Regions from separate parts of the Homo sapiens genome. Here regions 2, 3, 4 and 5 are each linked to region 1. Evidence: promoter capture Hi-C in 16 types of primary human blood cells and fetal thymus (Javierre and others, 2016). All regions are on one chromosome and are shown on one strand. Each heading gives the region's core, a stretch centred on a gene start or on the middle of the fragment in contact. The rest is flanking DNA. Distances are from core to core; before and after follow the strand shown.

What was found. The method cuts DNA at HindIII sites, captures the fragments that hold promoters and counts their contacts. A CHiCAGO score of 5 or more calls a contact.
Region 2: a fragment that was not itself captured here is called in contact with the fragment with the promoter of PPP4R3A in region 1 in 13 of 17 cell types (megakaryocytes, M1 macrophages, M2 macrophages and 10 more); the score reaches 11.6 in megakaryocytes.
Region 3: a contact is called between a fragment that was not itself captured here and the fragment with the promoter of PPP4R3A in region 1, in 11 of 17 cell types (M2 macrophages, erythroblasts, M1 macrophages and 8 more). The highest score is 7.2, in M2 macrophages.
Region 4: a contact is called between a fragment that was not itself captured here and the fragment with the promoter of PPP4R3A in region 1, in 2 of 17 cell types (megakaryocytes and M1 macrophages). The highest score is 6.2, in megakaryocytes.
Region 5: a fragment that was not itself captured here is called in contact with the fragment with the promoter of PPP4R3A in region 1 in 1 of 17 cell types (naive CD4 T cells); the score reaches 5.0 in naive CD4 T cells.

The regions. Positions count from the first base shown.
Region 1 is chr14:91,508,774-91,511,664 of GRCh38, reverse strand. PPP4R3A (protein phosphatase 4 regulatory subunit 3A) reads left to right here and starts at 1,355. Exons shown (of 15, transcript NM_001366432.2): 1 at 1,355-2,159. The coding sequence starts at 2,018. RefSeq lists silencers at 1,096-1,295, 1,876-1,975, 1,986-2,045, 2,296-2,345 and enhancers at 1,356-1,635, 1,453-2,103, 2,104-2,755. The HindIII fragment of the contact is 5,922 bases long and covers 1-2,675 here.
Region 2 is chr14:91,990,097-91,992,987 of GRCh38, reverse strand. All of the region lies in intron 15 of TRIP11 (thyroid hormone receptor interactor 11), which reads left to right. Among named protein-coding and RNA genes, the nearest start is that of FBLN5, 44 kb to the right of the region's middle. The HindIII fragment of the contact is 2,316 bases long and covers 363-2,678 here.
Region 3 is chr14:91,970,628-91,973,518 of GRCh38, reverse strand. It overlaps TRIP11 (thyroid hormone receptor interactor 11), which reads left to right. Exons shown (of 21, transcript NM_004239.4): 20 at 658-802. Among named protein-coding and RNA genes, the nearest start is that of FBLN5, 24 kb to the right of the region's middle. The HindIII fragment of the contact is 1,392 bases long and covers 726-2,117 here.
Region 4 is chr14:91,920,539-91,923,429 of GRCh38, reverse strand. All of the region lies in intron 4 of FBLN5 (fibulin 5), which reads left to right. Among named protein-coding and RNA genes, the nearest start is that of FBLN5, 26 kb to the left of the region's middle. The HindIII fragment of the contact is 3,943 bases long and covers 1-2,891 here.
Region 5 is chr14:91,782,251-91,785,141 of GRCh38, reverse strand. TC2N (tandem C2 domains, nuclear) reads left to right here. Exons shown (of 12, transcript NM_001128596.3): 12 at 1,932-2,891. The coding sequence ends at 2,042. Among named protein-coding and RNA genes, the nearest start is that of CATSPERB, 52 kb to the right of the region's middle. The HindIII fragment of the contact is 1,728 bases long and covers 651-2,378 here.

The sequences.
Region 1 (2,891 bases), core at 106-2,605:
CTGAGATGGGAGAATCGCTTCAGCCCAGGAGGTTGAAGCTGCAGTGAGCTGAGACTGAGCCACTGCACTTCAGGATGGGTGACAGAGAGACCCTGTCTCAAAAAAAATTTTTTTTCAATAAAATCTAAACGTAGATATTTCTGATGAAAATTTAGTATCCCAACAGAGACTTGCTGGAAGGACAAAATATATCACATTTTTAAGACATTGTACGTATATCTCATTAGTAATTTGATTATTGAAATAACTTTTGAAAATACCGCACTAAAACGTTAACACTAATTTCACCAGTTTCTTCGTACTTTTTGTGGCTACTGCAAAATTTAAAGTTATGTGTGTGGCTGCATTATATTCCGAGCGGACAAGCCCGACCTGGCAAGGCCTGGCAAATGGTAAAAGCCACCAAAATGGTGGCATATGAGCTGCATGATAGGAACGAGAATGATATTCCTTTGTGAAGATCAACAATACTTGACATCAAGTAGGTCTTCAAAACACAGGACTACCTAATGCTGAGAATTACTCCTCCCGATTACACAGTGTCGCATTTGTTTTTGTGAGCGCCTTAAGTTCCTTTTCCGACAAGAAAGGCTGGCAGACAGTTCTGATAGGGATGAAGGAATGGAGCACTTGGGGCTTGCCTAGGCTGTAAGGTGAAGTTTTAGAATTGTCACTTGGAACTCGGTCCCACGCCCAGAAATCGCAAACAGTCCCAAGTTTCCACACTGGCCACGCCAGTCCGCGACCCACGGCGGCTCCCAAGGCTGCGCCGACCTAGGCGCCCACACCCGCGACCTTCCCCGGAAGCGTTTCCATTTCATTCCCTCAAGTCCGCAAGGCGCCGGGTGGGTCCCGAGCGCCCGACTCAGCCATAAAGGCGGCCCCGGGAAAACGCTCTCGGAAGCGGGTAGGGGCCCAGGCCCACGCTGCCCGGCGTCCGCAGGCCAGGGGCAGGGGCAGAGGCAGGGACGGGGCAGGAACAAGGGAAGGTGGCGGCGGGCGGAGGCGAGGCCGAAGCGCCGGGGCCCGCGGGCAGAGGCCGCAAACGTATCCACGCCCCTCGTGCATCCTGGAGCGGGGCTGATGACGAACACAGGGCGCGACGGACGCACACACCGCCCAGCGCTCGCACGACGGTGCGTGCAAGGAGGCGGGAGGGAGCCTCGGGCTGTCACCGGCGCAATCTGCGTCCCGCCTCCTCCGCTCCCTGCGCTCCCGCCACCTCGGCAACTCCGCGCCCGCCTCCCGCCTCCGTCGGAAGCCTCCGCCGCAGTAAGGCTCCCGGTCTCGCTGCTGTCTCTTTAAATGGTGGGGCTACGAGCCGCCCCTGCAGCTGCTCCCTGGGTGGCCCCGCGCGCCGCTTTTGAGGGGCGAACCAAGATGGCGGCGGTTTTGGCTGTGTGAGGAAGACGGAAGAGACGGCGGCGGAGGGAAACCGACTTCCACTAGTCCGGGTCGCTTGGGCGGCCGGGGGCCCTCAGAGTCTCCCGGGCAGTGGTAGCAGTTGCAGCAGGATCAGGCGCCTGTCGGCTTCTGACGTTTAAAACAGGGGGAGCGGAAGGGAGCCACTGGCCGCGGTGGCAGGGCCAGGTATAAGGAAGGAAAATATGGCGGCGGCGGCGGCGGCCTGAGGAGGCGGCGGCGGCGCGGGAAGCTGCTTCGCGGAGATCATGGCGGAGGCGGGAGCAGGGCAGTGACGGGAGCCCCGAGTTCCTAGCGCTGCGGGGCGGGAGGCTACGAAGCGCTGCGCGGCCCCCTCGGGGCTGCCGGGCGCCGGGCTCGCCAGGCCTGGACAATAGCGCCGGGGAGCCGGAGGCGAGGAAAGGCGGCGGCCCAGAGCTCGGTCCCTGGAGCGGGCCATGCAGGCGGCGGCGCGGCCCCGCGGCGCCCAGCGGCGGCAGTGAGGCCGGGGAGCCCTCCGCTCGCGGGCGCCCTCACGCCTCGCCCCTCGCCTCTCCAGGGCCCCTTTCCTGGGCGTCTACTGGCGGGGCCCCCGCCCCGGTTCCCGGGCGGCACGATGACCGACACCCGGCGGCGGGTGAAGGTGTACACGCTCAACGAGGACCGGCAGTGGGACGACCGGGGCACCGGGCATGTGTCGTCTGGCTACGTGGAGCGGCTGAAGGGCATGTCCCTGCTTGTCAGGGCTGAGAGCGACGGTAAGTGAAGCCCCGCGCGGCGGGACCCTCGCAGCCCCCACGGCCCTGGGCCGCCTCCCTGGTTCTTGCGGGGCATGGCGCTCGCTCCACGAGAACAGAGGGACGGCTGGGGAGGGCGGCCACCTCGGGGGAGGACGGGCCCCAGGTACCCCAGTCTTGCGGGAGCTCCCCGGAGAGCGCTTGAAATGTTTCCTTTCTCTGAGTGCCTGGTGGCATTTTGGGTACGAGGAGAGCCAAGCGTGTTTGAGCTGTGCCGCCCTGGAGTGTGGAGAGGTCGAGGACCTGAGATAGGGAGTCCGGAGTGTGCTGTTCTTTTGCACTAGAGTGACCTTGAGAAAGACACTGATTAATCCGATCTGCTGCCTTAGTTCACCCATCTGTAAAGCAGGCATGAAACTTTGCTTGGAGCTAAGAAAGTTCTTGGACCTTTCACACTTTGAAGAACGTTTTGCTGTGCTTTTTTTGTTTTTCTTTTTAAACATCTTTTTGCTACATGTTTCTGATCGTGTTGAAGCTTGGCAACACTGTATCTGGCAACTCTACACTAAGAGAAAACGCTTTCCCTTGCGAAGATTTTCGTTCACCAGTGTTGGTTGTCTTTTTTATAGTAATGCAGAATTTTGTGTGTAGCTTACTATATAAACATCTTGCAAAGTTGGAATCATATGAGCTTTTTTTGATTGCTTAAATGGGTGTTCATAATTTGGTTAACAGGTGCAGAGAAGTTGGCAG
Region 2 (2,891 bases), core at 271-2,770, 480 kb before region 1:
GATAGGACACCAAAACAACGTGCTTTTAGATTTAGGAGAAACTTGTCTTTTTTTTTTTTTTTTTTTTTTTTTTTTTTTTGAGACGGAGTCTCGCTCTGTTGCCCATGCTGGAGTGCAGTAGCGCGATCTCGGCTCACTGCAAACTCCCCCTCCTGGGTTCACGCCTTTCTCCTGCCTCAGCCTTCCAAGTAGCTGGGACTACAGGTGCCCGCCACCACACCCGGCTAATTTTTTGTATTTTTAGTAGAGACGAGGTTTCACCATGTTAGCCAGGATAGTCTCGATCTCCTGACCTCGTGATCCGCCCGCCTTGGCCTCCCAAAGTGCTGGGATTACCCACCATGCCCGGCCTAGGAGAAGCTTTTCTATGTCATAAATAGACTGTCAATAACTGGTAGAAAATGATAAAATTCATTTACCTGACATTAGTGGAGGTAATTATGCTGTTCTTCAGGAACATTAACGTCCCAAGTAAGTGAAGATATACTTCCTAATAAAGTTTTAACATTTTAATTAAGTATTAAATGGCTGCAAAACAATTTAGATAATATGTATAAAATATAAGACTAACAATGCAGCAAATACCCACACTGTCACCACCCAGTGTAAGAAATAAAACTTCATCCTTTGAAGTTCCTTATGCACCCCTTCACATCCCATTCTCATCTTCCACCTCTTAGGCAACCACTATTCCAAAATGTTATGTTTATTACTTCCTTATTTTGTTTGGTTTTCTTTTTTCTTTTTCTGCTTGTTTTCTTTATGGTTCTTATCACATAGGTTTGACGCTCCAAACAATCCATTGTTTGGTTTTGCATATTTTTGAAGTCTATGTAAATGGAATTTGAACTATATGTAAATTCAGTAATTTTTCTGAGACTTGCTTTTTTTTTTTTTTTTTTTTTTTTGAGACGGCGTTTCGCTCTTTGCTCAGGCTGGAGTGCAAGGGCGTGATCTCAGCTCACTACAACCTTTGCCCTGGGTTCAAGTGATTCTCCTGCCTCAGCCTCCCAAGTAGCTGAGATTACAGGCACACACCATCACGCCTGGCTAATTTTTGTATTTTTAGTAGAGACAGGGTTTCACCATGTTGGCCAGGCTGTTGTTGAACTCCTGACTTCAGGTGATCCATCCACATCAGCCTCCCAAAGTGCTGGGATTACAGGCGTGAGCCACCGCACCCGGCTGAGACTTGCTTTTTTAAAAAACTTACCATAGTGTTTATGAGATTCAGTCATATTACTGTGTGTTACTGTATATAGGCGATTTGTTATTTTCACTTCTGTATGCATTGCATTAATATATAATTTACCCATTTTATTAATAAAGGGTATTTCAGATATCTTCTAAACATACAAGAGTTTTTTTAGATGTATATCTTGATTGGAATTGCTGAGTTATAGGACATATATGGTCAACTTCAGCTTTATTAGATGATTAATTGTTTTCTGAAGTGGTTGTGCTAATTTACTCCCACTAGCAGGCACATGACTTCTTGTTCTACATCCTTGTCAACACTTGACATTATCAGACTTTCAAAGTTTTTGACAATCTGATGGGTAGGAAGTGTCTTAGTCCATTTTGTGCTGATACAATAGAATACCACAGACTGGTTTATTTATAATGAACAGAAACTTAGTAGCTCATGGGTTCTGGAAGCTGGGAAATCCAAGATTAAGGTGCCAGCAACTGGTAAACCTCCTTGCTACATCATCCTGTGGCAAAGAGAGGGTAAGGTGAGAGAACAAGAGGGAGCCAAACTCCTCCTCTTGCAAGGAACCTACTTCCTTGATTATGAACCCACTCCCACAATAAGGACATTAATCTATTCATGAGGGTGGTGCCCCCATGAACCAAACACCTCCCATCAGGCCCTACCTCCCAATACTGCCACATTGGGAATCAGGTTTTCAGCAAATGAACTTGTGGGTATACATTCAAGCCATAGCAGAAGGGCTGTCTTCCTGTGGTTTTAATTTGCACTTCCCTAATTACCAGTGAGGTCAAGCATCTTTTAATATGTTTATTGACCATTTATACTTACTTTCTTGTCAGCTCATTAATACATTTAAAAGATGTATTTTATCTAATACTCTTAGTGGTTTCTAGTGGATCCAGAGTATACAGTCTGTGGAACTGCTAGAATGGAAGTCCAGATCTTCTTCTCTTTTTTCTTAGAGACAGAGTCTTGCTTTGTTGTCCAGGCTGGTCTCAAACTCCTGGGCTCAAACAGTCCTCCTGTCTTGACCTCACAAAATGTTGGAATTACAGGCGTGAGCCTCTATGCCTGGCATTTTTTTCTTATTTTAATTAGAGATGAAATCTTGCTATGTTTCCCAGGCTGGAATGCAGTGGCTCTTCACCAGTGTGATCATAATAGTGCACTACAGCCTTGCATTTCTGGACTCAAGCAATCCTCCTGCCTCAGCCTTTTGACTAGCTGGGACTATAGGCATGTGTCACAGCACCCAGCCAAATCTTCTTTTAAAACTAGTTTTATTTTTTAAAATTTAAAGTGTAATATACATTTAAAAGAAGAACAAAATAAATGAGAAGAAATTGAGGGAATTAATAAAAATAAAAGCTGTAATTAATGAAATAAAAACCAAACAACTGGTAGAAAGAATAACAAAATCTAAATGCTGATTTTGGAAAAAATCTAAGCGTAGATTTAAGCTTTAATAACTTCATAAGTACAAATGGTGTGGGTTAAAAAAATCATTTGAAAGTTTACATTTCCTTCACACTAAATTTAGTTTTGTGGATTTTTGAATAGTAAATATTTTATTTAAAATTTTCAATTTCATTCCCTCTATATATCAATCAGGTTTCAGCCCCTAAAAGCAGGATCAGTAGGGTGTGTATGTATATGTGTCAAATTTATATATTGA
Region 3 (2,891 bases), core at 172-2,671, 460 kb before region 1:
TTTTTATGTTTGTGTTAATAGTTATTAAAATGATCAGATTCATTAAGTGCTATTCATTGATGGCAAGAAAAATAAGTATTATCAGTTGGCTAATTCTGACCATGAGGTGTTAGAAGTGAGTGTTACCATCAGACTATTGATTAAATTGTTAAATTTTTGTAATGATGATCATCTATCTAAAGTGCTAGTATTTTAGGCCAGGTGTGGTGGCTCACGCCTGTAATCCCCGCACTTTGGGAGGCCGAGGTGGGCGGATCACAGGGTCAGGAGTTTGAGACCAGCCTAACCAACATGGTGAAACCCCGTCTCTGCTAAAAATGCAAAAATTAGCCGGGCGTGGTGGCGTGCACCTGTAATCCTAGCTACTTAGATGGCTGAGGCAGGAGAATCACTTGAACCTGGGAGGCGGAGGTTGCAGTGAGCCGAGATAGTGCCATTGCACTCCAGCCTGGGCGACAGAGCAAGACACCGTCTCAAAAAAAAAAAAAAAAAAGTGCCAGTATTTTCAATTGTTCATAAAGCTGATTTGTAAAAAAAAATTATTCAAGTGGCATGATTAATTTTTAATATTTAATTAGAAAAGCTGGTACATTTCCTTAGTTGTAGTGAATATAACTTAATTATCTAGCCTAATATAACCAAAATATTTTTTCTTAGTCTTTTTCAGAACTTTTTGTTAAATTTCTAGAAACAGAATCTCATCCATCCATTCCACCACCAAAGCTTTCTGTTCATGATATGAAACCTCTGGATTCACCAGGAAGAAGAAAAAGAGATACAAATGCACCAGAAAGTTTTAAAGGTAAAACTAGAGATTTAATTTTTCTATAATTTGAAAATTGAATGTTTAATGTATGATTATGTTTCACAGTGATATTAACTAAATTTTTAGTATTTTTGGAAATGTGTAATCAGGACTTCCAGAATTCCAATAAGGCATCAGGCTTTTCCAATAAGGCATCAGGCTTTTGCTTCATATATTCTTGTAGCAATCTGATATTTAATTGACTTAGATTAATTTAAATGGTAAGAAATATATTCCCTTTGTATATCAGAATAATTCTTCTCTGTCTGCCTAACCAGCTATGAATTATTCCTCTGGAAGTGATGGGGAATTGGTTACATCTTTCTTGGCCACCTGCTTTGCTTTCTCACTAATGGTGGTTCTTGCTAATCCGAGTTAGATGTGTAGTTTATAGTTTGAGAAGGGTTTTTCTCCTTTGAAAATTTAAGTGCTACACTCAGTAACCAAACATTGGCATGTTAATATATATAAGCGCAGTTTAACAAACTGACTTGAGACTCCAAGAATGTAGAAAGCACTCTTTTATGTTGAAAGATCTGCCTAGAGCGGACGGTTGGTGGTGGTTAACGTGTACATATTTTTCTGTCTCACTAAATTGTAAGGGTTTTATTTATGTTCATATCATATATACTGGCACGCAAGAAAATTTATCAATTGAAATTGAATTATAATCTGTTGGACTATAAACAAATTCTTTATTGGAAGAGCTCTTCTGAAATCTTCATATTTTAATAGACTAATATGTTTACTAATTGGACTGTAAAGGTATATGTTATATACTCATATCACACATCAGATGCTTAAATTTGGATAAAATAATAAAGAATTTATATTCTGAAATTTTTGAAACTTCTGTCGTTTAGACAAATATTTCTATTTTTCTGAACTTGTATAGGAAGGGAAAGTAGTAAAATTTATCAGTCCTTTAGGTAGTAAGTAGTTTTGCCTGCTAAATTTTGTGAAAAGTCATAACTTTATCTAAGAGGTGTAGGCTATACTGAAAACAGTTTTTCTTTTACACTAGGTTGTAGCATCTTGAAACAGATTCCCAAATTCATTATGGCAGGCTCTTTCCCTTCCTCTCTTCCCTTCCCCTTCTTTTCCCACCCTTCCTTTCCCTTTTCTTCCCTTCTCCTTCTTTATTCTCCCTCCCTCTCCCTCCTTTCCCCTTCTTTTCTCTCACTTTTCTTCCTCTTTCCTACCTTTCCCCTTTCTTGTATCAAGTCCAGTGCCCAGCCTGATTTGTATTGATAGGATACAAAAGCTGGTGATGGCTTGGGTTGATATAGGCTTTGCATGAACAAAGCAAGCTTAATCTTTAATCTTGAATTTGGAAGTGTGTCAGAGCTCACTAGGTAACACCAGAAGCTTGCCCAGAGTTCGGAAAGTTGTCATTCATAGGAAAGTACGGCTTGGGAACCCTAAGAGTGCTCAATGATAAGCAGATTTGACAAATTTGTCTTAGTGCTTTCTTTGCTTTAGGAGGTCTTTTTTATTTGAGTTTCCCATTGCTGAAGTAGGCACCTTCAAAGGATTGCTTGTCTGTTACCATTGAAGTTGTCAGAGGTCTTGGGCATTAAAGCAGAATCTGTCCACTAAGACATTAGGAATTTACCTATTCCAATAAAAAGGAATTGTATTAGCCCAACTTCATAGAAAAATAATCTAATCAAGATTGTTTTCAAACCTTTGACTGCCTAAAAGATGATCAGGTAAGGTATGTATATATTGTTTTTTCTTCTGGCAAATATTAATTCAACTGTTATCATTGTAATATGGGTTTGTTTTTCTTTATTGTAATTATTTGGGGAGAACGTAACTCCTTAAGCCTTTCATTATTCAGATGGGTAAGTAAAGAGTTTGCCTTGCAACATAGATGACACCATTTAAAAAGCTGTTGTTATGGTAAATGAAGTTCATCAGTTACATAACTGGTATTTAAGTATAAAACAAGAGCTGTAATGTGTTTAATAAGGTATTAGATAAGCATACAAATATTCTTCTCTTGCCTTTTCTTTCCCTATTCGTTCCTCTTATTCCTTATCCTCTTTCATCCTCCTGTATTTCATAGACCTTGCTTGTGGGA
Region 4 (2,891 bases), core at 257-2,756, 410 kb before region 1:
CAGCATGGACACATGTTGTGGGCAGGGCAGGCACAGAATAAGAGATGAGGCTTAGAAGGTTGGCACTCAAGATTCCCCACCAGATTGTGGGGCCTTGAATTCCATGCAGTTGACTTGGGCTTTATTCTGTGAACACTGGTTTTTGAGCAGGGGAGTGAAATGTTTACAAGCCTATTTGGAGATTTCTGCTTAGCCTAGTCTTAGCACTGCCACAAGCTCATTGGGTGGTTGTGCTCCAGTTCCTTCTCTTTCTGGGGCTTCAGTTCACATCTGCATGAGAGGGGCTGGGCCATTATCTGTGAGGCTTCCTCCAGCCTTGACCACTCAGGATGCAAAGATGCTTATGACAACCAGGTGAAGGGTGGCTTCTGGAGACAGGCAGCTTTCGGAGATGGTATCTTCTCATTTGAGGCATTGATTTTGCATGTAGTCTAAGCTGTAGGGGCTAATTACTGGGTCACCTCATAATTACATCACCTCCATGTTCTCAGGGTCCTGGTCAAAGTCTCCTTTAGGCTTAAAACAGGGATGAGCCCTCTGCCGAGACCCCTGAAAAAGGGGCATCAGTGGATGGATGAAATTGGCTCTCACTGTGATGATAGGGCCTGGCCTGGTCCTGTGAGAAATCTGACACTGCCTTTATAATTCCTGGGGGAAGTTTGCAAGCAGCTGGAGCAAAACACAAGCTCCTTAGGAAGCCAAGAATCCTCCCAGATTGACCAACAAGGTAGAGATGTAAGCGATCCCACCATCAGACGTCTCTGGAAAATCCCACCTCAGACCTCAGACCTCCTCAACAGATCCTTTTTCCAGGATTGTCTCAATCTCATTTCTCTCCAGAGAGCAGACAGTGGCTGGGGGCCAGGTGGCACTGGCCTGTGGTCTGTTGTGGTCTCCACTTCTCCCCATGGAGGCTGGGTCCTGCGGTTACTGCCATGAGTCCTTTCATTGTAGTAATTCCCACTGGAACACTGCTTCTCGCTTTTCCAAATGCTTTCGTGTCCACCAGCTCATGGAATTCTCAAAATAGCCCAGGGAGGAAGGCAGGCCTAGGAATGTTCTTCCCTTCATTTTATTTATTTATTTATTTATTTATTTATTTATTTATTTATTTACTTTATTATTATTATTATTTTTGAGACAGAGTCTTGCTCTGTCACCCAGGCTGGAGTGCAGTGGTGCGATCTCGGCTCACTGCAATTTCCGCCTCCTGGGTTCAAGCGATTCTCATGCCTCAGCCTCCTGAGTAACTGGGATTACAGGCACCTGCCACCAGGCCCAGCTAATTTTTGTATTTTTAGTAGAAATGGGGTTTTGCCATGTTGGCCGTGTTCAAATTCCTGACCTCAGGTGATCCGCCCGCCTTGGCCTCCCAAAGTGCTGGGACTACAGGCCACCGCGCCTGTCTGCCCCTTCATTTTAGAGAATATGTGGAAGGGCTCCATGACTGTCCCACATCCCAGAGTTTGCTTGTGATTTAGGCTGACCAGCATGTGGGCCCGCCAGCTTTAGGCCCTTTTAGGCCATCCCACGACGTGCCCTGGTTGGTCATAGGCACCATGCCAGCTCCTTTCTCTACCCCAAATATACCAGGCCCTTCTGGACCTCAGGGCCTTCACACTTTCTCTTCCTTCTATTTGGAACTCTCTCCTGGCTCTTCACATTGCGGGCTCATTCTCCTCTCTGGCTTCAGCTCAGTTCAGATGGCACCCCTTAGAGAGTCCTACTCAGGCTGCCTTGTCTGAAATTACACCGCAGTTACTCCCAATCACAGCCTTATCATTTTCCAGCACAGTCTTCAGCGTGCATTAAATCCACCGGAGGCCTTCAAACACAGATTGCTGCCGAGTTTCTGACTCAGTAGGTCTGGGGTGGGGTCTTTTCTTCTGAGTGATGCTGACGCTGCTGGCCCGGGGGCTGCACTTTGAGAGCCACTGATTGGTGGCTTTTTATGTATTTGTTTGTTGATTTTCCCATCCCTTAGCTGTAAACTTCAAGAGGGGAAGAAACGTTGCCTTGTAACCTGCTGCATCCCCACTGCCTGGCCCATAGTTGGTGCTTGCTAAGTACCTGTTAGCTGGCTATTGGCTGAAGGCTCAGCTGGAACCTCTTGCTTCATAATCAATCGTCTTGCACCTGAGAGGGAAGAAGGACAAGCATTGGCAGAAACTCTGGGAGCTACTTGGTCTCAGCTCTTCTCTGCTTTACTACCTTTTTCTTTAACTTTTTCATGCTTGAGCCTTTTCTAAGGGTCATTATTAATTTTGGGTAAAGATTACATGGATAATTTTCATAAAATCCCAGGTGACGGATTTTACTTTCTGGGTTCAGAATTCCAACGAAGCCGCAGGACATCTGGGTAAGAGAATTAAAATGTCGTGACTGGCTTGCATAGAACACCTCGTAGAATTCCCAATGTGGTACTTTCAGAACCCTCTGTGTCTCAGGCCTACTAGCCTTTGGCTTCAGAAGAACAAAGTTGAAATTTTGCCAGATTGGAGTTGGGTTTTAACCATGAAATGTTATCTATCTTCCCTGACAAAGAGGAGTTGAAGACCAGTTCTAATGATAGATCCCCTGAAGATATTGCTTTGGCCAAGGGAGTGCTGAGGGTAGGCTTGGGCTGACCTGGTCCATACTTCGTGCTACCATTGGGGGCCACAGGCAATGGAGTATGTGGGTTGGAGGCTTGCCAGGAGGAGGGTTGGCAACTCCTGCATAAACCACCACAAGGCTGCTATGGACTGAGAATCGTGGGAACAGCTGATTCTGCCCAAGGGGGTTGAGGAAGTCTTTACCAAGGAGGGACATTTATAGTTTGGTTGAGAAATCTGGAGGATAGGTATGTGATATGACAGGATTTGTCCAAGATCACCTGGCAGGCCATTGGC
Region 5 (2,891 bases), core at 265-2,764, 270 kb before region 1:
TTCCTTATATTTTTCTATGCATTTAAACAGTCAGTTAACAAAGGGAATACAGGATAATATTAAAGTCAAATAGAGTACAGTTCTTCAGCATCATAAATCAAAATTCAATTGCTACAAAAATCGAAACTTGTCAGACTTTTTGCTTTAATACAAATAGTTGGAATTTCTGAGCAATCAGGTTTATCTTTAAATATGTTTTTTTCTGAGCTTTTTTACTTCAAAAACGATGAGAATTATCAATTTTTCAGTACTACTGACTTGTTCCTTGTGGAAGGAGGGAACATTAAGTATTTAAATCAATTTCTTAAGTCTTCGAGTATCAAATTTATTTTGTTTAATCTTTGATTTAATGTTTAACATGGGCACTTTTTATATTCTCTTACCTGAGTTAGTTTTGAATTCCTAGAACATGTCCATTTTAACAGTGGTTGTGATATTATTTAGTTAATACTACTGTCTGGATTATTTTAAAATCTTGGTACAATTTGTATAAAACAACATAACACTTGTTAACTTGCCAGTCCTCTAGGAACTTGTTTCCTTTCCTTACTCTGAATAGACTAGTGGTAGCTGTCCATTATCTTTTACCTTAATTACGATTGTTTGAACCACATTTAAATTCCAAAATCTATATTATTGGTTTAAAAGCTTCAACTTGACAAGATATTATTAACAGTCTACATGAAATCCTCAAATTATATATGAATTTTCAAACATTGATATCAGCTCCTTGATTTACTTTTTAATATATATTTTTACGTAAAATACTAATTAAAATGTTGTTTTATCATTTATTATTTGGAAAAGAGCTTGAATTTAAGAATTCATATAACCAGCATAATTTTGAAGACCATTAAGCCTTTATGAAGTCAATTCAGTTAAAGTTTTCGTATATCATCGAGCCTCAACTTAACGGTATGAATGGAATAGGAAATTTACTTGAGATGATTTTCATGATAACATTTGTGGTGATTCCATTCTCTTGGCTAAGATTCTAGTTAGAATAATAATTCTGGAAAGGTTCTTGCTGGTCATCTGCTCCGTATGGCTTATCTGGTATAGCCTTAGGAGGAACTATGATGGGGTAGCCAAAGGGGAACTCAAGGTCTTCCACCCCTGTATCAACGAAAGTACTCTAATGTCTGTTTTACATACTGGGATTATTTGTAAGATTTCATTTGAAAGGAAGGTTCTTTAGACCAAGAAAGAAAAGGAAAAAGGTTGAAACCAATGACCTGCTCCAATCTCTTAGAAACTGAATCTCAGAGAAGTTAACTTCAAGGTAAAAGCATTTGTTAGTGCTAGAGGTAAGATGAAAATTCAAGTTTTTTTATTCCTTGTCTTCATAATAATATAATTATTGTGATGTCTTTTGTACAATTTGCATAATACTATGTATACATTCACATGTAGTATTTAAGTTACATAAGTGATGGGTACTATGAAATTACTATTGATCAAGAATGACTATTAGATTTTAATTAAGATTACACTTTATTTCTTGTAAAAGGTGATTTAAAATGCACATTCCTTACCAATCTAATTTGAATCATGATTAGCCTCAGTTTAATTATCCTTACAAAAATATTTTTGAGTGGTTGGGATCAGTTTTAAGTTGAGCTCCTAGATTTGTTGAATAGGAAAGGATACTAATAACTGTTCTAGGGGAAATGATTTTGTAATATTTCACCTTGAATTTTTGAACTGAACCTTATAAACTAGTCTTCAGAATGACTAAGCAGGTTAAATGTTTTAGCATTTAAATGTCAAATAGAGAAATCAATCTGACTTTTGGAAAAAAGAAAGATGTTTAATTTAAAATATGTAAAGCAAACTTCCAAATTTCTTCCATCAGTAAGAGTAACTAACTGTCTGAATGTAGTTATTATTATTGTGTCAAGTTAAATGATTGTACATACTTTCCTTTACAGATTTGGATAAGTGAAGACAGTAATAACATTGAAGCAGTGAACCAGTGGAAAGAGACAGTAATAAATCCAGAAAAGGTTGTTATCAGGTGGCACAAATTAAATCCATCTTGAAGACTTCACACATTAATTTGGTGAAGAACTTGACATTCTTTTAGAAGACTTATGATTTCAATTTGCTACCAATGAGAAGAGGCAAATCAACAAATTTGTCAATTTATGGGGGCTATAATTATGGTATATAATGTATCTGATAGAAAATTTGATAAGAAAATGTAATGAATTTTATCAGATATCCAAAGTAAAGGAAATGTTTTAAAACTGCAACAAGAGACACAGACAGTAAAATCAAAGTATTATTAGGATGACTAAATAAATTATAAAGTCTGTGAGAATATCAACCATAGATAGTTCTTTCTATATTATGTTTTCGCTTTTGTATTTTAAGCTTTACTTAGATATTCAAAACCTGGTATATCAAGTCTCTGTTAGTACTATTGGCATTTAGAAGACTTTACCATTATTTCAGTGCTAGGCATTATTGATTAGGTCTTGGCTCCACTGTTTACCTCTTGCTATGTATTTTCTCCCGGTAAAAATGAATTGAACCATTTCAACTATTTTCTATATTTGGAGAAAGTTTGTGCCCTGTGTTTTATAATTTTTTTACCCATAAGACATCACATTATCCCTTTGTAAGCTACTTATCTCCAAAAAACTTCAGAAATAGAAAACTACATTTTGGCAGGAATAATTGAAAACACCAGAAGGTTGAAGTTTAATTGGAAACCCAGAATATACATACTTTGCTGTTTTCTTCCCTCAAATATTTTACTATTTGTTTTATTTGGAGTTAAAATAAGAGTATCATCCATATGGTCCATCCTAATTCACAGAATTAAATGAGCTTAAATAGAAAATTCAGTATTTTATGATAATCACTTCGTTTTTAGTTTTTAAAAT